7 separate regions of the Homo sapiens genome follow, and regions 2, 3, 4, 5, 6 and 7 are each linked to region 1. Evidence: promoter capture Hi-C in 16 types of primary human blood cells and fetal thymus (Javierre and others, 2016). All regions are on one chromosome and are shown on one strand. Each heading gives the region's core, a stretch centred on a gene start or on the middle of the fragment in contact. The rest is flanking DNA. Distances are from core to core; before and after follow the strand shown. Region 1 holds the start of SLC60A2-DT (SLC60A2 divergent transcript). Region 2 overlaps LAMA4 (laminin subunit alpha 4). Region 3 overlaps FAM229B (family with sequence similarity 229 member B). Region 4 overlaps CCN6 (cellular communication network factor 6). Region 5 has its middle 3.2 kb from the start of CCN6. Region 6 overlaps LOC105377947 (a long non-coding RNA gene). Region 7 has its middle 62 kb from the start of LINC02527.

The links. The method cuts DNA at HindIII sites, captures the fragments that hold promoters and counts their contacts. A CHiCAGO score of 5 or more calls a contact.
Region 2: a contact is called between a fragment that was not itself captured here and the fragment with the promoter of SLC60A2-DT in region 1, in 2 of 17 cell types (total CD4 T cells and activated CD4 T cells). The highest score is 6.8, in total CD4 T cells.
Region 3: a fragment that was not itself captured here is called in contact with the fragment with the promoter of SLC60A2-DT in region 1 in 5 of 17 cell types (non-activated CD4 T cells, fetal thymus, total CD8 T cells and 2 more); the score reaches 7.1 in non-activated CD4 T cells.
Region 4: a contact is called between a fragment that was not itself captured here and the fragment with the promoter of SLC60A2-DT in region 1, in 5 of 17 cell types (total CD4 T cells, activated CD4 T cells, naive CD8 T cells and 2 more). The highest score is 9.3, in total CD4 T cells.
Region 5: a fragment that was not itself captured here is called in contact with the fragment with the promoter of SLC60A2-DT in region 1 in 1 of 17 cell types (total CD8 T cells); the score reaches 5.1 in total CD8 T cells.
Region 6: a fragment that was not itself captured here is called in contact with the fragment with the promoter of SLC60A2-DT in region 1 in 1 of 17 cell types (neutrophils); the score reaches 6.1 in neutrophils.
Region 7: a contact is called between a fragment that was not itself captured here and the fragment with the promoter of SLC60A2-DT in region 1, in 1 of 17 cell types (neutrophils). The highest score is 5.5, in neutrophils.

Annotation. Positions count from the first base shown.
Region 1 is chr6:111,257,709-111,261,202 of GRCh38, reverse strand. It overlaps SLC60A2-DT (SLC60A2 divergent transcript), which reads left to right and starts at 1,991. Exons shown (of 3, transcript XR_001743807.2): 1 at 1,991-2,079. SLC60A2 (solute carrier family 60 member 2) reads right to left here and starts at 1,864. Exons shown (of 4, transcript NM_153369.4): 1 at 1,476-1,864. The coding sequence starts at 1,502. It overlaps LOC124901378 (a long non-coding RNA gene), which reads right to left. Exons shown (of 2, transcript XR_007059708.1): 2 at 3,493-3,494. RefSeq lists enhancers at 1,755-1,834, 2,155-2,214. The HindIII fragment of the contact is 14,878 bases long and covers 1,295-3,494 here.
Region 2 is chr6:112,158,779-112,162,272 of GRCh38, reverse strand. It overlaps LAMA4 (laminin subunit alpha 4), which reads left to right. Exons shown (of 39, transcript NM_001105206.3): 14 at 3,393-3,494. Among named protein-coding and RNA genes, the nearest start is that of FAM229B, 73 kb to the right of the region's middle. The HindIII fragment of the contact is 6,360 bases long and covers 1-3,494 here.
Region 3 is chr6:112,089,339-112,092,832 of GRCh38, reverse strand. All of the region lies in intron 1 of FAM229B (family with sequence similarity 229 member B), which reads right to left. Among named protein-coding and RNA genes, the nearest start is that of FAM229B, 3.5 kb to the right of the region's middle. The HindIII fragment of the contact is 6,017 bases long and covers 1-3,494 here.
Region 4 is chr6:112,067,440-112,070,933 of GRCh38, reverse strand. It overlaps CCN6 (cellular communication network factor 6), which reads right to left. Exons shown (of 5, transcript NM_198239.2): 4 at 2,536-2,729; 5 at 1,248-1,595. The coding sequence ends at 1,314. It overlaps TUBE1 (tubulin epsilon 1), which reads left to right. Exons shown (of 12, transcript NM_016262.5): 12 at 1-271. Among named protein-coding and RNA genes, the nearest start is that of CCN6, 15 kb to the right of the region's middle. The HindIII fragment of the contact is 2,819 bases long and covers 219-3,037 here.
Region 5 is chr6:112,049,133-112,052,626 of GRCh38, reverse strand. No RefSeq gene overlaps it. Among named protein-coding and RNA genes, the nearest start is that of CCN6, 3.2 kb to the left of the region's middle. The HindIII fragment of the contact is 1,675 bases long and covers 796-2,470 here.
Region 6 is chr6:111,990,640-111,994,133 of GRCh38, reverse strand. LOC105377947 (a long non-coding RNA gene) reads right to left here. Exons shown (of 3, transcript XR_007059710.1): 3 at 3,228-3,494. Among named protein-coding and RNA genes, the nearest start is that of CCN6, 62 kb to the left of the region's middle. RefSeq lists an enhancer at 997-1,146. The HindIII fragment of the contact is 950 bases long and covers 1,108-2,057 here.
Region 7 is chr6:111,969,793-111,973,286 of GRCh38, reverse strand. No RefSeq gene overlaps it. Among named protein-coding and RNA genes, the nearest start is that of LINC02527, 62 kb to the right of the region's middle. The HindIII fragment of the contact is 4,920 bases long and covers 1-3,494 here.

The DNA of each region.
Region 1 (3,494 bases), core at 742-3,241:
GTTTCTAAATCTACACTTTTCTTCCACGCCATCAGAATTAGTCAGTAAAGGTTGCTTAAAAAATATTACACGCCCAAGTACAGAATGACTTTAACAATAAAACTTTACTCAATGCAGTGTCAGCAAGAGGTAAGGATTACAATTGACTTTCAGAGGAAATTCATTGGACATTTAAAGAAAAAAATGTTTCCAATCAGTCTACATTTCCAGAATAACTGATTCTAATTGCCCTGCTCTGCTCTAAATGCATGGGGTGCGCCCCCTGCCCAACTCGTAACAGTCCAAGACCACGGACCACTATGGGCCCAGGTGCACAGCAAGCACCTCGTACTTCGAGAGAAGCCTGAGCACAGAATCTAATCAAATTAGTTCATGTCTTCAAAGGATTTACAACAGGACCGGACAAGTCAGTGACGACTCACCAAAAGTCTGAAGTGATTTCTTTCTTCACCCCTCCCCACCGCCCCCAATCAAAATACTCTAAGAAACAACTGTGGCTCAGAGTCCCTGAGATGGTAAGTGACCACACATGACTCTTGGGAGGACTCATCCTCTCAACTCCCCCAGGATCATAATTATCAAGTGATAAGGAGGAGGTTTCCGAAAAGTGAATTGAGTGGCGACCCAGGGGTTTGGCAAAAGGCGCCTCTAGGCTTGCCCTTTGCTCCAAGAAAAACATTTAAGAATCTAAAGGTTGGTTTTATTAATAAATAGGATGGTGGGCAGAGTAAAAGACATATTTCTGGCTCTATCACTTAACCAGCTGTGTGATCCAGAAAGTCACTTTCCCCTCCGGGCCTATTTCCTTATCTGCAAAATTAAGCGGTTGGCTGAATTTGGTCAGATCACCAGGAAGAAATTCCAGAAAAGTAGTTTTTCTGTGTAATAATTTGGGGGTTGAGTGGGTGGGTGCGGAGAGCAGCGGCCAAAGACCTGGTGAACCCCTCTTGCAACCTTCCCATCCGACGAAGGAGACGTAGGAAGGCTTGCCGGGCCGGGCGCCGTGGCTCACGCCGGTAATCCCAATACTTTGGGAGGCCGAGGTGGGCGGATCACCTGAGGTCAGGAGTTTGAAACCAGCCTGGCCAACATGGCGAAGCCCCGTCTCTACTAAAAATACAAAAATTAGCCGGGCTTAGTGGCAGGCGCCTGTAATCCCAGCTACTCGGGAGGCTGACGCAGGAGAATCGCTTGAACCCTGGGGGCAGAGGTTGCAGTGAGCCGAGATCGCACCACTGCACTCCAGCCTGGGCAACAGAGCGAGACTCCGTCAAAAAAAAAAAAAAAAAAAGCTTGCTGGAGCTGAAAGACGTATTCAGAAAATCTATTTCCTCCAAGATTAGAATTGTGCCCATTTTCTAGATGATGAAACTGAGGCCCAGTCAGATTAGGTAACGCGCCCAAGGTCAGTTTGCAAGTGGCGAAGGCAAGACTCGAACGCCCCGGCCTGGGAGTGTTGCAGCCCCGGCTCTCACCAGCCCCAGGAAGGAGGCACACAGCATCAAGGTGGTGAACCACCGCAGCTTGCTCCCGGTCCCACCGCTCTGCCAGGAGACCACCACCACCTCCGGCTCCGGCTCATTCTCCGCCGGGGCCTCCGCCTGCAGGAGCCGCTGCCCCGCAGCCGGGGGCCCGGCCCCACGGAGCTCCACCTCTAACTCCAGCTCGGCGGCTCCGGAGAAGTCGTCTTGCTGCCGCCGCGCTTCTCAGCAGAACTTCTGGAGCTCCGAGAAGAGCACTGGCCCCGACCCCAGGCACGGGTGTCCCTCCGGGCGCCACCTCCCAGCGGACCGCCCGGAACCGGGGCAGAGAAGAGGAACTTCGGCACGCCGCAGGTGTTCGTGGCAAAAGACGCTCGCTCTCCAGCAAGCAGGCGCATGCGCGGGTCACGTGGCGGAAATGTGGCCTCTCGCCAACCGCTATCGTGCCTCAAGCCGGAAGTTGATATGGTTGCCTAGGAGACCGGACGTAGCTCTCTAGCCTAGGCATCATACTTAGCTGAGCTCACAGAGGCTGGCGGACGTGCGCCCCATGGCGGAGCGAGCTGAAGTTGCAGCCTGGGACCAGGGAAATCAAGAGGTAAAAATGCGGCCAAACCATTATGAGGAAAAGGGGCCAAGAATTACACTGTAGCGCCTCGCGCCGGCTCCCCGGTCTCCTGGGGAGCGAAGGGAGCCTGAAGAGCTGGTCCTTATACAGCTTTCTGAAATCCCTGAGATCTGTCAATGAATCGCGCATCTTTCACTCCACAAGTATTTGTTGAACGTCATTGTGTAAGTTATCACGTATATTATCTCAACCCTCACAACACTCCAAATTCCACGTTATCCCCGTTGTACAGATAGAAAGATTAAGTCATAGAAAATAATTAACAATCTGCCCAAGCTCAGTCATCGAATTAGTGGCCGTATATAAACAGTGTAACAGTAGCTCAAGAAAGAAATCGGGATCCAAAGCTGTGGTTTCAAACACAATTCCTGAAATAATTCCAATTCCTGAAATAATTCCATCGTTGTAAAGAAGTGGAGCGTGGCATCGATTTGAGGAATTTTTTTTATATACTTTAAGTTTTAGGGTACATGTGCACAACGTGCAGGTTAGTTACATATGTATACATGTGCCATGTTGGTGTGCTGCACCCATTAACTCGTCATTTAACATTAGGTATATCTCCTAATGCTATCCCTCCCCCCTGATTTGAGGAATTGTTTTCCTTTTGCTCTTTAACAAAGCGTACCACAGCCTCAAAATGTTATATACTTTTCTTTGTGGTCTATTTGAAATGTTCTTTTCCACCTGATTCTTCCAACTTTCATCCACTTAGGCTCCCAGACTACAAACCTTAGTCTCATCATCCCTTGCAACCCGTCTCTCCAGACTTATTCGTTTAGTCATTAAGTCTTCCCCCCACCCGCACCCCCACTTTTTTTTTTGTTTGTTTGTTTTCTTTTTTGAGACAGAGCCTATGTCGCCCGGGCTGGAGTGTTGTGGCGCTTTTTGGTAGAGACGAGTTTTCACCATGTCGGCCAGGCTGGTCTCGAACTCCTGACCTCAAGTGATTCGCCTGCCTTTGGCCTTCCAAAGTGCTGAGATTACAGGTATGAGCCACCATGCCCCGCCAAGCATTTCTTTTTTATTTATTTATTTATTTATTTATTTATTTATTTATTTATTTATTTGAGACGGAATCTCGCTCTGTCGCCCAGGCTGGAGTGCAATGGTGCGATCTCGGCTCACTGCAACCTCTGCCTCCTAGGTTCAAGCGATTCTCCTGCGTCAGCCTCCTGAGTAGCCGGGATTACAGGCGCGTGCCACCACGCACGGCTAATTTTTTTATTTAGTAGAGACGGGGTTTCACCATGTTGGTCAGGCTGGTCTCGAACTCCTGACCTCATGATCCGACCGCCTCGGCCTCCCAAAGTGCTGGGATTACAGGCGTGGGCCACCGCGCCCGGCCCGCCAAGCATTTATTTTAGAGCAGGTCAGCTGGCATT
Region 2 (3,494 bases), core at 461-2,960, 900 kb before region 1:
TCTCAAACTCCTGACCTCAGATGATCCACCTGCCTTGGCATCCCAGAGTGCTGGGATTACAGGCGTGAGCCACCACACCAGGCCTTGAATCTTGATTTCTGACCACTTTCCTTGTCTCTACTGCTGCTCTTTGGTCCAAGTCACCTCATCTACAGTTTAAATTGCCACCAGAGCCTCCTAGCTGATCCAACTGTCTCCACTCTTGTCCTTCAAGACATATTCTTTATGCAGTAGCAGAACAATCCTTTAAAAACATAACCAACATTATTTCTACTATAGACACTCCCCAGTGGCACTTAAAGTAAGAAACAAGCTCATTTTGTCATGGCCCATGAGACCCTACATGACCCAGCTCAGACCCACTTTTCTGACCACATACCCAACTCTTTTCTCACTCACTGCACTCCAGCCCAACAAACTCCTCTCTATTTTTCAAATATACCATACTTATTTCCTGCCTCAGGATTTCTGCACCTGCTGCCCTCAGATCTTCAAATGGCTGGTGTCCTTATGACCCTGACATCCAAATGAACCCCTTACCCCACTCACTCCTCATCCCACCCCACCTGTCATATGTTATTCAAAATATCTTTTACTCCCTGAAATTAGCTTGTTTGCTTGTTTGATCACTTGTTTATTACCTGTATCTCTCCCACTAAACTGTAAATTCCTTGAAAGTGGAGACTGTGTTCAAAGGTATTCTACCCCCAGAAGAGTTCCTGGTCCATAATGAGCACACAGGGAATATTTGTTGATGGAATGAATGAGTAAAAGTGGTATGTCCATGGTCTATTTTCCACTTATACAATTAAAAACATTTTTTTCAAAGTATTGTTCCCCAGATGACCAACCAAAATGGCTAGAGGTTTAATACTGCCTCCATAAAAGTAAACCCTTTGTACTACAAACCCTTTGTGCTACATTCTGGGATTACAAAAATAAGTTAAACTCAGTTCCTGCCTCCTAGGATTGTATGATGTGATGAGTTAAATAATCACTTAAAATTATTACAATCATTTGACACATGAATGAATAATAAAAACACATGGCAACACTTAACTCATCCTGAGGAGGTTAGGGATGGCCTCAAAAAGGAAGTGATATTTGAGCTGAATTTGAAAGGAGGAGTAGAGCTTTCCAGGTAGATTAGACAGAAAATAAAGGAAAATTATTCCAGAAAGGGAAAATATTTGCAGAGGTAAGAGACCAGAAAAAATTGTGGAGCATTAAAACAACAACCAGTTGGTCAAGATTAGACCATGGGATATAGCAGGTTGGGGGTCATGAGAATTGATGAAATTGGTGAGAGAAGAGCGGTCAGCTGATGATGTCATGCTTAGAAATTGGACTCATTCCTGCAAAGCAACTGGCTGATTCTGAGAAGGGAAATAACATGGTCAGATTTTCTTAATAGGAAGATTACCTTTCCTGCAAGACAGTGGAGAATGGATTAGAATACTCAAAGACTGCCCTCAGAGAAAGAAGTGAGATCACTCAGGGGAGAGGAAAGGGCTGGGAGTCAAATGCCAAGTTTCACGGTCTCTTTCTTGGTCAGGGAAAGAGGAGACCCAGGAGATAGCATAGTCACAGAAGCTAGGAAAAGAAAAGAGTTTTAAGCAAAGACAGTGGCCAACACTGTAGCAAACCACAGATGGGTCCAGTAAATAAGGATGGGAAAATGTCAAGTGGATCTGGAGATTTGGGGCCAGGTGTTGGTGATCTTGGCAAGAAACATTTCTGTAAAGTGCACTGTGTCAAAGCAAGAGAAAAAGCTAGAAGGGAGCCTAAAGTGAAAGAATAAGGTTTTTTGTTTGTTTGTTTGTTTGTTTTGTTTTTTGACGGGAGATACTTGAGCATGTTTATATCTGAGAAGAGTCAGTAGCTAGAAAGCAAGAATGAATAACGGGGTTACCAAGACAATGGGGCAGCATGCTTTATACAGAAAATGAACATTTTCCTCTTAAAATTGGAGAGAAATTTTTGTGTAGGTGTAGCTATAAATACATCTATAGAGTTTGCGGGGAAGGGCTGGGGGCTGGTTGCAAAAAGCTGGGGAAATACCTGTTCATTGGTTTTGGAGTCTCTGAGGGAGTTAACCAATAAATAGTGACCCTTTCCAGAACCCAAGTTCTAAACAGGTGGAAACATAAATAAAATAGTAAATACAGAGACCAAGGAGGTTGCCTTATTTCTGAAGCAGCTAAGCAGCAGGCATGGCTTTAGGTCTCTTAGCCAAGTGGGGTAGCTGACATTCAGTCCCAGTATTAAGCAGCTGTGCCCACCCAGACAGGCAACACCGTAAGGCTTAGATGGGGGTTCTGCCCAGAATAGTTTTAACATGGAGGAACACAGGAAAACTCAGGCTTTCTGCTGGCAGCTTGCTCCCAGGACAAAGAAGGGTGGAGTTGAGCAGAGCCTATAGAGTTATTCTTCCCAAATTTACCCACAAAATCAACCACTCCCCTCTCACAGGAGTAGAGTGAGGAAAGGGGTAGAGAGGTCTGGAGTTTCACTCACTGTGCTCCCTGCATATAAAGGAGACATCAGAAGTGTGGAAGAAGTGTCCCCCACTAACAGTTTATGACCTCCAAATAAAAAAGAAAATAAAGTGATCTGTTTACAATCAGATGGGGGTGGGTGAAGGAAATGTTGGCTTAGGAATCATGACAATGTTTAGAATCACTATTTGGGTGACTAGGAGAACAAATCTCTTTGCAGCATTGAGGGGCCAGCCAAGGCTGAAACTCACGGGTTTGCAGGAACATCCGTCTACACAGTTGCACGATCTTTAAGCAAAATCGTAGGTCTGTGGTTGTATTAAAAACCAAGAGAGCCTGTGTTACAAGGTGATTTTTAGGAAGTAGTCAGTCACCTGAAAGGTAACTGAAAGGTCAGATGAAAACTGAATGATGTCCATTAGATTTAGTAACTTAGATGTAATTAACTTCTCTTTTGGTAGAGTAATGGAGTAGAAATCAGACAGGACTAGGTCAAAATAGGAAATATAAAGTGAGAGAAAATAGAGACAACATATATAAACAACTTCCATTTTTTGAAATATGTTGCTATGAAGAGAGCAGAAAAGTATTGTAGTAACATTAGGGACATGTGTGGATAATTGAAGGTTTTAGTTTAGTTTTAGTTTTTAGGTCTGAAATGGTAGAGCATTTCTGGGTTGTGAATGCTAGCTAGGGAAGCAATCAATACAGAAGAAAGAGCTGGCAATGCGGGATAAATAGACATATACTTACAGTATTTTAGACTTATGTGGTCCTGCACTGAAATTTACTGACCTTCATAATAAGAAAGAACAGAGATTATCTTTTGGTGCCTAGGAAAAATGTTTTAAGTTCTTCTAAATTCAATGTATTTATTAAAATTTTTTTCTTTAGAATGCGTCAGGGATTTATGCAGAAATAGATGGAGCCAAAAGTGAACTACAAGTAAAACTATCTAACCTAAGTAACCTCAGCCATGATTTAGTCCAAGAAGCT
Region 3 (3,494 bases), core at 464-2,963, 830 kb before region 1:
TTCACTTCCAAATAACATTATACCACTTCACATATACTAGAAGAACCATATAAAAGTATATTCCATTTCCCCTCTCCCACTATATATAATTTTGTTGTCATATACTTTAATTCTATCTATAGTACAAACCCCATGCATGTCGTTATACATTTTCCTTTAAGCAATTGTCTTTAAAACAAGAGATGCCTTCTATATTCATCTACATTTTTATCATTTTCAGTGCTCTTTATCCCTTTGAGTAGGTCCAGATTTTCTTACAACATAATTTTCCCTTTGCCTGAATGTTTCATTTAACAGTGCTGGTCTGTTGGTGATTAATTAATTTAGCTTTTATATCTCTTTTTTTCATATTCATTGTGGAACAATATTTTAACTGGGTATAGAATTCTCAATTAGCAGTTTTGTTTTCTTTAGGTACTTTAAAGATTTGGGTCCACTATGTTCCAGCTTGCATTGTTCCCAACAAGAAGTCTGTTGATTTTTTTATCTTTGTTCCTCTATATGTAATATGTCTTTTTTATCTGGCTGGCTTTAATATTTGCTTTTTATCACTGATATTAAGCAATTTGATTACAATGTACTTGGCATAGTTTCTTTCTGTTTCTTGTGCCTAAGGTTCACCGAGCTTCTTGGATCTGTGGGTGCATAATACTTATCACATTTGAAATTTTTTTAGGCATTGTTTCTTCAAGTATTTTTTGTTCCCTCCTCTGGCATGCCAGTTACATGTATATTACACTGTTGAAAGTTGTCCCACAGTGCACTAGTTCTCCTTTTTAAAAAAATCTTTTTGTTCTCTGTTTTATTTTGCACAGTTTCCATTGCTACATCTTTAAGTTTGCTAATCTTTTCTTTTGCCTAATGTCTAATCTGCTCTTTATTCCATCCATTTTTCACCTTAGATATTGTACTTTTCATCTCTAGAAGTCTAATTGGGATCTCTTTTTCATATTTCTTTGTCCCTTCTCAGTCTGCCTGGGCTTCCTTCTGTCCTCTTGAACATATACTGCTTTAATGTTCTTTTAATTTTATGTAATTATTATGTTTACTAATTCTTTCATTTGTGCCATTTCTTGTTCTGTTTTTAACTAATTTTTCACCTCATTATGGGACTCATCTTTGCATATCTGGCAATTTTTGACTTGGGTGCCAGGCATTGTGATTTTACATTGCTAAACAATTTTATTTTTATTCCTCTAAGTATTTTTAAGTTTTGTTCTGGGACACAGCTATTTGGAAACAGCCTGGTTCTTTGGAGGCTTGGTTTCATGCTCTCTTAAGCTAGATTACAACAGCCTTTCATCCAGGGCTAACTTTTCTTCACTACTGAGGTACCTTTCTGAGTACTCAACTCAATGTTCCAGCTATTTTAAGGTTTCTCCACTCAAGATACGGGGAATGTGAATTAGTCCTAGCCCTATGTGAACCCTAGGAATTGTTCTGCCCGCTTATTTCCAGTGGTTCTTTCCTCAGTCTTACATAGTTTCCATGAATCCATGCAAGGATCAGCACTCAGTTTAGGCTCATGAGGAACTCCTTAAAGATTTTCAGAGCTTTGTTTTTGCATACTCTCTAACAAATAAAGAAACAGATAAAGAAAATGTGGTATATATACACAATGGAATACTATTCAGCCTTAAAAAAGAAGAAAATGCCGTCATTTGTGACAACATGGATAAACCTGGAGGACATTATGCTAAGTGATATTAGCCAGCCACAGAAAGAGAAACACTCCACTTAGATGTGGAATCTAAAAAAGTCAAGCTCATAAAAGTAGAGAGTAGAATGGTGGTTACCAGAGGGTAGCAAAGCTGGAGGGTGGGACAGGGATAGAGATCAGAAAGATGTCCAACGGATACAATAAGTTTCAGTTAGGAGGAATAAGTTTTATAGATCTATTACATAGCATGGTGACTAGTTATTAATAATATATATTTCAGAACTGCTAAAAGAGCAGATTTTAAATGTTCTCATCACAAAAAAATTCTGAGTATGTGAAATGATGGATATGTTAATCAGATTGATTTAATCATTCCACAATGTAAATATTTATCAAAAAATCAACTGTACCCCATTAATATACACAATAATTAATCAATTTAAAATCAAACAAATCAAAAATGGACCAAATAATGGCAGATCATCAGCCTGAGTGCCAGAAGGGGGATAACATAAAGCATAGCCCCCAGACACCCCTCAATGGACATGTATCATGTACAAAAAAAAAATTGTTGTTTTACACCACTGAGATTTTGGGGTTGATTGTTACCACAGCACAACAAAGTTTATGCTGATGTATACAGACTTTGGTCCAGACTTAGGTACCGCTATAACAAAAATCTAAAATATAAGTCACCATACCTAAGTGGTCAAGCAGCAATTAACAAGGAAACTGTTGTGGAAAGCTAAAAGGATAGTGATCTATGTCACCCAGGAACAAACCTATTGGGAAAAATCTTTGGAAAACTCTGTGATAACCTAGAAGGCATGTGATTTAACTAATGAATTTAAATGTTGGGAGAAGAGGCTGGAAAACAATAACATGTCAGTTGCTACTGTTTGTCAAGTTATATGAGAAAGAGATGAGCTCAGAAATGGCGGTGTGCAAGCAAGAATAAAAACAGACCACCCACAACTCTGAATTATATTTTAATGACAACTTACAAAAGCTACAGAATAATTTTCTTCTAAAACATTTTATTCCCCTTCAGAACTTTGCAGCATGTTTTCAATGCCTTCCAGTACTGAATGTGCTATATAGATGAGTCTAAAGTACTCTAATTAATTGTTTTTTCTTCATCCCACTCCCCCGTTCATTTCATGCCTAGGTACCTAAAAAATTCTCTCTTTATTCTGAAAAGTTGAATGCCTTAATGAGGCTGCATGTCTTGGTGTTGATTTTTCTATAAATTGTCCTATAGAACATAGTGTGTATCCTTTTAATCTATGTATTTTTCTTCCTTTTTTTTTATCAAGTACATTTTTTCCTCCATTTGCTGTGGGCACATGTTAATCTTATGTTGAGCCATCTTTGTCTCCTTCATACATATTATTTTTAATAACTTTCATATCTCTGGGTTTTGCCTAGTATTGTTATTATTTTAAGACTTTCCTCTACATTATAATTTGATGTGCATCTCTCTAGTCTGCTTCTTAAATGCTTTTAAAAATTATTTCTTTAAGTCCTTTAAGGTGGATGTTGTTGTCTTCAGTTAATTTCCTTAGTTCTTTTATCTCCATTTTATTTCATTTATTCATCAAATATTTATTTACTATCTACTATATGCAAGGTACTATCCCTAGTAGTGGATAAAACAACAAGACTCAGCCCTCATAGAGCTTGAGTCTTATTATTTTAGTATCTTGTCTTTAAGTTCCTGTTTTATTGCATTCATATTCTTAAGTTCTTCTTCAGCACAAAGTAGATATGATGAATTTTCTTTTCTCCCCTCTTAGGCTAGGTTTTACCCCAAGGTCTTGTACTTTATCCATCT
Region 4 (3,494 bases), core at 379-2,878, 810 kb before region 1:
CAACTGTTAAGGAGGTTTTGCTTCTTCTTTAGATAACAACTTGTTTGCCCAAAAGAATCCTAATTTGTACACTTAACATGTATTTGTATTAAACTTTTTAAATAATTGCTTTCTTATCAAACCAATTGATTTTATAATAAATGTCTATATTTTTCAACAGTGCTACTTGTTATTGTTCTGCATGACATTTATGCAAATGAACAGAATGTTACTAAGCTTGATATCTTCCAAACTTTGCAATAAATGGCTATAATTGTTCCGGTTACTATAATCTTCAGTTCTAGCCTTAACATTAATTTATTTTTAATAACATTTTATATTTCAGATCCACAGGTTAATTTTAAGTTGTATTCTTTATATTTCTTTCCTTTGCAAAGTAATGATACTGTTCTTGGTCTTTGTCTTGGAAATTTAACTTTTTACAATATTTGATGTAAAAAATTTTAGATTGCAGTTGTTAACAGTGGCCAGAAAAGTTGCATTTTCTCCTTTCCAAAAGAAACTGATATTCAAGATCAGGCAGTGAAAAGTCTAAATATATTTACAGCTTAATCTTATTTCTGTTCAAGAATTAATCTAGAATTTCACTTGCCCTATAATGATGTATCAACTAATGGGCACCTTAGGCTACATTGTCAAATATAGATTAAATTTTTTAAATTGAGTATGTTTTTTTCTCCCCCAAAGGAGTCTCGCTTCTCCGTGCCAGTGCAGTGGTGCAATCTTGACCCACTGCAACCTCCACCACCTGGGTTCAAGCAATTCTTCTGACTCAGCCTCCCGAGTAGCTGGGATTACAGGCGCATGCCACCACACTTGGCTAATTTTTGTATTTTTTTAATTACAGACAGGGTTTCACCATGTTGGCCAGGCTGGTCTCAAACTCCTGACCTCAAATGATCTGCCCACCTTGGCCTCCCGAAGTGCTGGGATTACAGACATGAACCACTGCGCCCAGCCTAAAATTTAGTATACTTTTTATACAGCTTTAGCAAGTATTCCAGATTATTTTGTAAAATATTTTCTTGTAAATTGCATAATTTTTTCATATACAAAATGCTTAGATGGTAACAAATGTCTGTGTATTATATAATTATAGGATATATTTTAGAAATTAGTTCAATTTTTAAGTTGTTCAAATTTTATGTATATTTTTAAGATAACTTTTTAAAAGTTTCTAATGCCTTAAATGTAGTGATCTGAGAATAGGCATTCATACTGTTTTAAACAAAGTAGATTTGCCACCATTTTATACTCACTAATTTTTTTATTATATGACAGGATTGACTAACTTTTCCCCCATTTGCTTGGTTTTACAGAATCTTGAGCTCAGAAAATATATCTCCAGGTTCTCTGCAGTTTCTCTGACACACACAAGATGTAATCCACAGCATCTTCCATTTAAATGACCCCTCATTTGGGCAATCAAATTGAATAGTAATCATTTTAGACTTATTAGGGATACAGCATCTCTTATCCAAGCATATTCCACAAAAAGTGGGTTTGTAACTCTGAGTACTTGAGCATCCAGAAAAGACAAATTTTTCAGCTTTGGAGAGTTGGAAAGTAGGTTGGCATGTTTTTCCTTTGGGAATCTGAAAAGATAGATAAAATGAAGTCATTCTTTAAATTTTATTACAATAGTTTTGAAAACATGTAGAATAGTTTATAGTACAAATCTGAGTATTTGGAGGCATTAATAAAAGTTGCTATGTAGTGATTTCCAGCACTCTCTTTACCCTTAAGATCCCCTTCTTATCAGAGGTCTGTCCTCTCTATTCTTCATCATATTATAGCACGTACTCCTCAATGTTTTTTGCTATCTATTCTTGACTCAATTTTACAATAAATAGAAATTTCTGTTTTGTTTAATATCAAGAGCCATGTCTTATTAAATATTTATCTAAGACTTAGCAAATTCCATAACACAGCCCAGACAGTTTTCAGTGGATGCATAGATGAATAATTATCCTAATCTTTCTTTAAAACTGAATTGTCAACTTGCTAATATGATAGAGAATAACTTTGGGGTAGAAGGATTGTGTAGCATTTCTAAAAATTACCCTTTTTGAGACAGACTTACTGCCTCATTCAAGAAGCAGGACCAGCTCTAGTTATACCAAACAATCTTAGGGTAAATATTTTATCATAGTGTTTTAGCAAGTTTACTATGTAAGCATAGAGCATTTTGGAAATGGTGTGGCTTCCTTCCAAGTTAGTGATATATAACTAAGATCAGGACTTCTCTACTCTGATGTTCATAATATCTGTTTTCATAATTATAGTGTAGCAACCAAAATCTTTTATTCATTAACATAGAAAAAAGAAGTTAGAATCTGCTCTGGTTGGTAAAATTTTCCCCACAACATGCAGTTAATACCTGTTTTCCTCTGAAATAGTTTGACTTTAAGCATTATAATGAGATGCTTTTATTTTTCTAAGAACTAAACACCATCCCACCCTCCAAAACACACACATGCTTACTTTTCAGGAATCTCTTAATATTGAATTAAGTTAAATATATTTAAACTTTACCTTTATTGTCTTTAATATATTGCTGTCGCAAGGCTGAATGTAACACAGTCTTTTCTCTTTTCTCATTTCACAGTTGCTGTTTTCATTGGTCACCCTGTTAGATATTCCCATCCCACATGTTCTGGAGCAGGGAGTCCATTTTGTTGCTTGCACAAGACATTTTTTTTTCCAAATAAGTGGGAGATTTCTATAAGCTAAAACAAAGGGAGAAAAGTACATATGTATACATATAAATGTACTTGTATAAATAGATAATTTTTAATCATGTTTAATGTTTAAGAAATCTGAGTATTTTTGTATAATATAACTCAGAATAAAAGAAGCCGATGGTCTAATTTATCACTCTATCTCCCTCTTTCCCAACCCCAAAATTAACTTTCAATCAAGTATTACAGTCCAGTCTCTTAGGAGGAATAAAAATACTTTATCTTTGAAAAACTGAGAAGATTTACTCATTTGCATTTTTCTGCTTTGCCTGTCCTCTGAATACTAAACCTAAGCTTATGTTCCTGTTGAGTTGTCTTTTCCCTTGTTCTTGCCTCATCATTTCTAACAGACATTGAAATAAAAATTAGGGAATTTGATCAGAACAGTGTGATCTTAATGTTAACTTTCATAATATGTTAAAATCTAAAATACAAAAATTATATTTGAGAATGAGACTATCAGTGAGACCAGATTTCTTCCATTTGTTTTAATCTAGTCTTTTAGAAAACTGTCTAATTAATACTACACTGAACTAAACTAATCATTTATATAGAAAGTCATTGCAAGCGTATAATTTCATTCATTCAACTTAATTGTCACACTCCCTATGTTCTTAGGCCCAAAGTACTCTCCAATTGGCTAAGATTTCGAATTACATATGAAAAAACAGAATGGATGGATCAATAGATGGGTCAGTGAGTGAGTAGATAGAGCCCTTCCAATGTGCTGCTAAGGAGAAATAGGAGGGGAAG
Region 5 (3,494 bases), core at 384-2,883, 790 kb before region 1:
ATGTGCACAATGTGCAGGTTAGTTACATATGTATACATGTGCCATGTTGGTGTGCTGCACCCATTAACTCGTCCTTTAGCATTAGGCATATCTCCTAATGCTATCCCTCCCCCCTCCCCCCACCCCACAACAGGCCCCGGTGTGTGATGTTCCCCTTCCTGTGTCCCAGTGTTCTCACTGTAGAGAAGTCCTTAAATGACCTGATGGAGCTGAAAACCATGGCACGAGAACTACGTGATGAATGCACAAGCTTCAGTAGCCGATTCGATCAACTGGAAGAAAGGGTATCAGTGATGGAAGATCAAATGAATGAAATGAAGCGAGAAGAGAAGTTTAGAGAAAAAAGAATAAAAAGAAACGAACAAAGCCTCCAAGAAATATGAGACTATGTGAAAAGACCAAATCTACCTCTGATTGGTGTACCTGAAAGTGACGGGGAGAATGGAACCAAGATGGAAAACACTCTTCAGAATATTATCCAGGAGAACTTCCCCAACCAAGCAAGGCAGGCCAACATTCAAATTCAGGAAATACAGAGAACGCCACAAAGATACTCCTCGAGAAGAGCAACTCCAAGACACATAATTGTCAGATTCGCCAAAGTTGAAATGAAGGAAAATATGTTAAGGGCAGCCAGAGAGAAAGGTCGGGTTACCCACAAAGGGAAGCCCATCAGACTAACAGCGGATCTCTCGGCAGAAACTCTATAAGCCAGAAGAGAGTGGTGGCCAATATTCAATGCTCTTAAAGAAAAGAATTTTCAACCCAGAATTTCATATCCAGCCAAACTAAGCTTCATAAGTGAGGGAGAAATAAAATCCTTTACAAACAAGCAAATGCTGAGAGATTTTGTCACCACCAGGCCTGCCCTACAAGAGCTCCTGAAGGAAGCACTAAACGTGGAGAGGAACAACTGGTACCAGCCACTGCAAAAACATGCCAAATTGTAAAGACCATCAATGCTAGGAAGAAACTGCATCAACTAACAAGCAAAATAACCAGCTAACATCATAATGTGGATCAAATTCACACATAACAATATTAACCTTCACACTTAACAATATTAACCTTAAATGTAAATGGACTAAATGCTTCAATTAAAAGACACAGACTGGCAAATTGGATAAAGAGTCAAGACCCATCAGTGTCCAATCTGATCTTTGTCTTTTTATCTTCCTGGTTATCACCATTGGTCTGTGGGTACCAGCCTGTGATTCCCACACCACACCGGCTGTCAGGATGGATAATTTCATGTTTCTGGTTTGTCTATGAAAAGCAGAGGAGTCGCATCCCAACACTGGGGTATTCATCAACTGTATCTCTCCAGCTCCAGCTCTCCCCCGGTTCCACATATAGTAATGCACATATCAGTGCAATTTTTGAATTTAAGGAGTTTCACCCTCCTCCCGTTTGCTGTCTGTGAAATGCTGGCGGCAGCAGGCATTTTTCTGGAATCGTCTTCCATCCCTCTGCAGTCTCACTGACGTGGAGCAGGGGAAGATAGATGTTGACCATCCTTGCCTCTTGGTAGGAAAGGAACATCTTGCTTGAAAAGTGACCTGCAAAACCTCCCCCAGCTCCAGAACACACTGGCGCTGGGTTACTCACTCCCACATGTGTTTAGACATCTTTGGCTGTGGGAGCTCCTATTTAACTCTTTCCAGCCGACTGTGTGTGGACTCCATGGATATGGTAGTTTTAGAGGTCGGGGCTGCTATTTTTGACCTTACACAATAAGAGCTTTCACAGTGTGTGTCCTGTTCTGAGCATGTTTCCCTATTATCTCATTTAACAGAATGCTAATCTGTCTAGGAGCTCATTTCACAAGTGTTCAGTTTGTGATGTACGTTCCAATAGACATGGCGCTAAGCATAATTCAATGTGCACCATGTTCTATGATTTACAAAGAAGTTTCCTGTGTATTACATTTTTAATTTCACAGCTCAGTGAGGTGGGCAAAAGCAGTATTACCAACCTCATTTAACAGATTAAAAAGTGAAAGCTAAGCGATTATACTTGGTCAATAAAACACACTTAATCTCTGCCCTCTACAGCTAAATAATCTACTGGGAGAGAAGACGCTGAACAAATAAACACACAAAATGTCCGTCATTGAAAGTTGAATAAAGGCTAATAAGAGCAAAGAAGAAATTATAAGAGAGAATGACAGGTGAGAGCTAATTTAGATTGGGGGCAGAGAGGACATCTGAGGAAGTGATACTTAGTCAAGAGATGAAGCTAGATGAAGAGTCGGGAGACAACTGCCAGTCCAGGACTCCTTCCACTGGCAAGATGCACACCTCTAATGGTGGTGAGCTCCCCCGCACAGAGCACACCCCACTCCTTTCCCGTAAGATTCCTAAAATCGTTCTGTTAGGAGCGTCATCACAGCTAGAATAGTCCCTTCTCCTGGGAGTACCAGCCGTCCGGGCAGGCAGTGTTTGGAGCTCATGCCTGTGGTCAGCAAGCTTAGTACAGTATGAGTCTTCCTTTCCTCATCCCCTCTTTCCTTATCTTCCTATCTTACTGATTGTGGAGAAGGGTGTATTGACATCCTTGAGAAAAGAGAAGATATTGTTTGTGGAAGTAATGTATTGAATGTGTGCTATGAGGGGGGTCAATATTTGCTCCAGTGAAATAGAGATATAGTAACAATAACACAGCTTGGGCAACATAGTGAGACCCCATCTTTACAAAATAGAAAGTAAAAAAATTAGCCAGGTGTGGTGGTGCATACCTGTAGTCCTAGCTACTTGGGAAACTGAGACAGGAAGATTGCTTGAGCCCAGGATGTTGAGGCAACAGTGAGCTATGATCATACCACTGCACTCCAGCCTGGGAAACAGAGAGAAATCCTGTCTCAAAAAAAAAAGTATAATAATAATAAGAGCTAACATTGGCCGAGTGTCACTGTGTCTCAATATTGTACTGAGTGCTGTATATGTATTAACTCCTCTGATCCTTCAGCAACACTGGGCCTGTGTTCTGTGATTACCATCTTTGGTTTACTTATTAGGAAACTGGGGCAAGGTCACATGGTTAGCAAGAGGTAGAACCAAGATTCCAAGAATTTCATTACCATGCTCTGCTGCTCTCTGCATGGCCTGTAAATGACACCATGATCAGTAGCAGGATGATTGATTGATATATTAATTTGCATTGAGTTCTCTGTATTTTTCTTCCACCTGCTCCTCTCCTGGATTTCAAGAAGTTAGTGAGGCCCTTTAGGGTTCCCGCCTATCCATCCTCTAAGCACAGGATGGAAGCTGCTGGCATGCTTTATCTTGCCTTTTGAGATCCTGCCTTGTTCTCACTGGTAAGAGGTGATGCTGGGAGACGATGGGGAGGAAGAGGAGTGCAGCCGAGCATTGGGTGAGGACTGAACATTCAGGCCTCCCCATGCAGCAGCCCGGGGAGGTGACTAAAGCTCAGAGGGACTTGATGATTCATGGTACTTCCAGGAGGCTGCCCCAGTACCAGGGTGCCCTGCACTG
Region 6 (3,494 bases), core at 333-2,832, 730 kb before region 1:
TATTACAGGAAAGGAAAGAGATAAAAAGATAACTCCTATGCCCAGTATCAAGAGGGACCCTTAACACCACCTCTCCAATGTCCAATACTCTTTTCACCACACTTAGATCTTTCTCTCCTCTAACTTCTGCTTAAGACTGAAACCTCGTGTTAATGTCCTCATGGGATATGACTTGAACATCTTCAAAACCACCTTGACAACCTGTATTGGCATCACAAGCTTGTATCAATGGGCTTGCAAAAAGTTGTGATTTCTGAGGATCAGAGTGGTAGCTGGTGTGAGCAAGAGGCAGTGAGTGTTGCCTCCAAAGTGTCCTTTGGGAGAAAACAAGCCCCAGTCTCTCCTCAGTGTTCAGCCTCTCTAACTTTGCAGTCAGTGTGACAGGTTCTTAATGACCTGCTCCCACCTTCCCCTGTTACCTCCTACATACGCGGGAGAAACCAATTAGAGTAGTGACTTGGGACTACGAGACCATCTGTCTCAGAGAGACCACTCTTAGGACCCCCACAAAGCACCCCAGTGTGCAGACAGCCTCACTCACTTCAGACGATGCTCTTAACTGAACAGAACCCTGCTTATCTTTGTGCAACTCCAATTATTCTTGCCTGCCAGCAGGTGTAATAATGCTAACTGCCTCTCAGCCCCCACGTGGCAGGTGCCACAGAAATAAGTGGATAAATGGACAGAAAATGAACCGAAGCTACACAGTCTGCCAAAGGCTTTCACAGCCCCTTGGAAACAGAACACCTGGCTTCACTGTCTTGTGAATCAATATGGCCTTTTCTTATAGTACCTAAAGCTGAAATTCATCTCCAATTCCTTAAACTGTCCTTCTCCAGGAGCAGAATTCATTTACCATCTGCTTTACAAGAATCTGGACACTCTATGTTTCTATCTTATTATAGATTCAGCTAATATGATTTCTCCCATCCACTATCCCTAAACAACACAACATGTGCTTTGTCTTTGACTAAGCCCCACAGCCTTCTCTCCATACAGGGTGCTTTCTGATGATTCACATCAAATTTCCTGTTTGGTTTCCTTTATGGGTGCATGGCTCCTAATGTTTTTACCCATCTTCTCATGGCGCATCCGGCCCAGGAAGCTTTACTGCGCTTGTTAGTTTAGCAGCTGTGCTTCTCCACTGAGGCTACCCCAGGTGGGAGGCAGCTGGAGAAGGACAGGATAAGAAATTGGAGATGAACTTCATTGTTGTTGTTGTTATTGTTGCTCATGCTGTTGTTTTAGAGACAAGGTCTCACTCTCTCGCCTAGGCTGGAGTGCAGTGGTGTGACCATAGCTCACTCCAGCCTCAAACTCCTGGCCTCAAGGGATCTTCCTACCTCAGTCTGCTGAGAAGCTGGGACTACAGGTGCACACCAACACACCCAGCCAATTTCGTTTTAACTTTTTGTAGAGACAGAGTCTCACTATATTGCCCATGCTGGTCTCAAACTCCTGGCTTCAAATGATCCTCCTGCCTTCCAAAGTGCTAGGATCACAGGCATGAGCCACCACACCCAGCCAACAATGTTTGGATTATTTTTTTCTTCCCTATACTTTCCCCATTTTTTTTCTCAGACTAATAATAGTGAGTTTCTATGACTTCCAGAGTCCTAGATACATCTTCTGTGATCGCATATCCAATGAGCACAAGAAAAATGAACAAGCTCCATCACCAATGCCTCCCCTGGACAATGGGATAAGGCCAAAGAAACCACAGCACAAAGGGTGGCCCCCAAGTCTTCCATTTTAAAAAAAGAAGTTAGAGGTTTTGTGTTTGCTCAAAGCAACTAGAAAGAATGATGGACCCCACACACAGAGATAGCTGTGCTATAGACAAGTGTTTTTCTTTTTTTTTTTTATTTCACTTTAAAAATTTATTTTCATACCAAAAAAATCATTCAAAGACAGTATTAAAAAGGATGTTTTTCAAACCGTGCTCCCCAGAAATGCCTTGGGAGAGAGAAAAGTAGAAAACAAGACAGAAGCAGGCTCTGGGGCTTCCTCCCATGATTCAAGCAGAGCAACCTGAGCTTAGCCGTTGTACACAAGCTTTTTTGGAAAAAGGGCTTCTGTGGCCCCAGACATACAAAACCACTAGTGTACTGTAAAGGTCGCTGTCCTGGGAGGCAGGGTCCCGGTCCCATCTTACCTCTATAGCCTTTGGCAAGACACTAAGCTTCTCAGGGTCTCCCTGCCACGTCTGAAAGGGTGAGGTGTGGACTAAGAGATGGCCAGGATTCTCCAGCTTTATGATCTTCTCTTCAACGTTATTTGTAGCCTTCAGATGACTGTGTCAGTTCCAAGTTGGAAAGACTCGGGACTGAATTCTAGTTCAGCCACTCTTCAGCTCTGTTACCTAGGGTCGGGGGAGGTCCCTGTAGTCTGAATGACCTTGTATGACAGATGCATCTGAATGTGTGCTCCCAGCTATGGAATCCAGGAGTGGCCAATCCAGAGATTTATTCCTTGTCTATGAGTAACATCTGAGCTCCCAGCCCATCCCGTGGGACACGGGCCATACAGAGGATTGAGGCCCGGAGCCTTAATGGACATTGCGAGGTGGAGGTCATTAAGGGGAGGGTGTTAGTGAAAATGCTGTATAAACTGCATGATGTTTGCAAGCAGCTTTGGTTCTCCTACCCATCCTGCTGCCACCAGACCATACAGATATCTTGTCCAGCCCACTGTCATTGACTCTCTCCCCTGCATGTGATCCCCTAATAAAACCCCAAGTCTCGTTTTCTGGCTCTGGGTCTCTTCTTCAGCCTCTTGAACCTAATGCCTTCCCTACAGAGGTTAATAGGCATTCGTCAAAACAGCCTCCTCCTCCCTGAAGTTCAGTTCACCCTCACCTGTAATCACTAATACTATCAATGACCTTGAAAGATTGTTGTGAGGATTAAAAATAACATATAAAACTTTTCTTGGCCCAAATTAGTTATTCAATAAAGGGTAACTATGACCTACCATGATTTTTATGCATGCAGCCTTTAACTCAACCAACCCAGTGCTAGGACTTTAACTTATGGGTATATGTCTAAAAGTTCACCAAGTTGTTCATTTGAGGATATTCATAGCAATAAAATGTGTAATACCAAAAAATAAATAAGTAGGATGTGTCCATCAATCAGACGGCAAATAAACAAATTATGCAAATATACCTATTTGTATATTTGCATTTTATAACCATTGACAGGTTTTTAAAAATTGATTTATCAAAATTGAGATTGTAGCCTATCCTTTTATTTGTTTAACCTCTCCATACTTCTCTGTATTAAAGGTGAGTTCAAAAAATGCTATTCTTCATCCAAGAATTTTATATTGTGTATCTATTGGTTAAAATAAGTAAACATTGATGATGATGAGGCTGATGATGAAGGTGGCGATGGGTCACATTCAGAGGATACAGGAATCCTGGGATGTCTTTTGGGGAAAAATGACCAATAAGGATGAGGCTCTGCAGATGGATTTTCTCTGGCCAGTCCTTT
Region 7 (3,494 bases), core at 568-3,067, 710 kb before region 1:
GGGTAATAAGAAAGCATAATTATATACTTCAGAGCTGTTGAGGTTTTCTTCTAGTTTCAAAACAATGAACATCCTGTGGAAAGATAGTGCCACTTGTGAATAAGCTGAGATTCTTTCCCCTGAACAACACACAGACAGTGGTTTGGAGGAAAAACCAGAGGACGGCCCTATTTAATGATTTTATTCCTTGGGTAACCTAACTGCATTGTTCTGTGGTACTCCCAGAAACAGGCTTCTGAAAGCATAATTATAAGTGTAATATCTTCAAAACTAAATATTGCGTTCTCTCCCTCTGTCTCTTTCTGTCTCTGCACACATGAGGACACACACACACACACACATACACTCTGAACAGGCCATCTAGTGCTGAGAGAAATGGAGTTGTTTCTAAGTTCATAGCAGGCAAAACTCGAAACTGACTTCAGTAACGTGTTATTGGTTTATTCACGTATTCCTAGTTCTCACCCCAGGCGTGATGAGTGAAGATGTGGAAAGGATTTCAAGTGTCTCCATAAGTGACATGGTGGTCTTTCTGGATTTGGAATCAGAGTGAAGCTCCATGAATGTGCAGAATTATGGGCTTTCCAGAGGCAGCCATTGGTTCCTGTGATTATCATCCCAACATTCCTCAGAGTCCCACAGAAAGTCACAAGAAACAGTTGTTGCTGGAGCTGAAGAAAACAACATTTAACATTTCAAAAATGCCAATCCTTTCAGTGCTCCTGTTTACTAATTATTGTCCATATGACTTCACAGGTGAGGAGATGGAGACCCAAAAAATGCCCTAGGCATTCCTATCTCAGTCTTTGTTCAGACTGAACTTCCAGAGCCCAGACTCTTCGCTTATGGCTAAATCAGGCCGTCCTTCAGAGAAGGCTGAGTTGCTTGTAAACCATCATGTAAGTGTGGTTCCTTGAACCACAGCCCACTAAACTCTCAGTTCCACTCTGATGGCCTCAGCAAAACATGCTTCCAAATAAAAACATCACATTGGTGATTTTATAAGGCTTAGGTCAAGTTCTTTTGACCACATGGACCCTGCCACGCGGAAATGAAAATTGTCAATAGCTGTTAGAAAATAACATCCCACAAGACGAAGCAAAGTATTCTGGAGCTCACACAACCACTAGTCACTGCCTGACTCTAGACCACAGACTCATGGAGATTCTGAGGCAGACACTGGGGATTTGATTGATTTTACTTTGGTGATGGCTTGGGACATATGATTTTCCTTCCTGAAAATCTGCTTTCTGGCAGTAAAAACCAAACCTAGGGGAATGAGTCATTTTTCCTCACCCAACTTTGGGTTCTGCTTCTCAACCAACTGGGAAATTTTGGAAACTCCAGTTTTTATGAGTGTGCAAGTGTGCACATGAGTATGCACACACATGTGTGGATGGGAAAGAGAGTGAGAGGGAGAGAGATTGATTGTGGGAAGGAGTAGGGAATGAAGAAAAATATATTTATCCTAGAGCCAATTTCTACCTGATAATTCATATTTTTAGCCTGTGGCCTTGAAGATGACTGTCATTTTATTGGCACAAATGACTTGCTGTGCAGTTTGCTGAGTAAGTGTTTTTTGTTGTTGTTGTCATTTTTTTTCTTTTTTTCTTTTTTTTAGTAGGAAAAAAATCTCAGCCATATGGGGAAAATGCTTTGGCAGATGGAGCACATCTATTCCAGACCCCAGGTCCTTCACGGCCAAGAATCTTACTCTCCTTTGTGTTAGGCCCATTCATTGATGGGGAAACAAACGCCAAGAGTTTCCCAATATCGGTGCTGAGGATTTCTGAAATGAAGAGAAATCTGGACCATTGCAGAGAACTCAATTGAAACAAAACATCTAATGTGCTTGGCCTCGAGGTTAAGAGGGCTCTTTACTCAGATAAACAGTAACAAGGCTGAGCCCTGTACAAAGTGGCACGTCGTCTCCCTTGATCTGAGTGTGCTCTGAGCTCCAGCAATACAGGAATTAAGAGAGGTTGTTTGTAATTAAACTGCTCAGACGATGAACCTCACTCTTTAAATCTGAAGAGAGACTGAAACAATAGTACTAGATTCATAGGTAACCAAGTATTTTTATTTTGTCCCAAGAGCAGAACATGAGTTTATTTGGGAAGGCTTTTAATGGAATATTTTCAAGGGGGTGAGAAACCTACCTGTTCTCTTCAGCATCCAAGTCTCAATTTTCACAAACACTCAATTAACATGCACATATATGCAAATTCTGCTGCATATTTTGGATCACGTAGATAGCCACTTTTAGGAGACAAAGAAATAGATGACTCCTCTCCAGAGCTGATAATCTACCAGAGGTAGAGTTGATACATGTGAATGGAAAACTAAAAATACAAGGGTAACCACTGTGAGGTTAACTCATCAGGGTAGAAGCAAATAAAATGTTTTTTTGATGTGTTTATTTATACAACAAATATAAATTCAGCACCTACCATGTGTCAGGCACTGTTCAAGGTTCTGGGAATAAACAGAGACCATAATAGACCGAAAAAAAAAAATCCCTGTCTTTGGATTATTAGATCCTAATGAAAAGAGTCTAACATAGGAACAGAAAACCAAATACCACATGTTGTAAGTGGAAGCTAAATATAAGAACTTACAACACAAAGAAGGAAATAACAGACACTGGAGTCTGCATGAAGGAGAGAAGCAAAAAAGAGAACTATTGGGTACTAGGCTTAATAGCTGGGTGATGAAATAGTAAGTACAACAAACCCCTGTGACGTGTGTTTACCTATGTAACAAACCTTCACATGTACCCCCAAGCCTAAAATAAAAGTTAAAAGAAACAAAAATTGTGTAAAGTAAATTTATCTTAAAAAAAGGAGTCAGGCAGTAAAATGTAAAAAATACATTGAGATGAATTATATCAGGAACCAATTATTATTTTAGAGAGACAGTTAACAGCTGCCTGACCATCACTGGATGGTCGCCTGACACTCCTGGTGTGTGTGTGTGTGTGTGTGTGCGTGTGTGTGTGTGTGCGTGTATCGGGGGCCGCCCTTTCCGGCCCTACTCGTATCTGACTAGCTACCTATTATAATATTTTCACATACCAAAAAATGGATTCAAAACCTCATCTCAGTCTGAATGTATGAATTTTCTCTTTGTCCAACAACTATCTAAATTTGATACTACTTTTGCATGAATGTGTGCATGCCTCCTTCTCTTCAAACACACTACACCCATCAAATGAGAAATAAAAAACTAAATACAATTCTTTACATTCATATTATGCTTTTATTATTATTCATGTCTTGAATATGTATTTAACAAGTATCTATTAGGTGCCTACTCTGAACCAGGCACCTTCCTAGGCCATGGAGATGCCATGGTGAGAAAGACAAACCCTGTCTTCATGGAGCATACAGTCTTATCCTGTGTTAAAAAACTGACCTAACAGATAAATGGTCCTCATATCCATTGATTACAAATAGAATGACTAGGATGAACTATTGAAAAAAGACTAAATTATC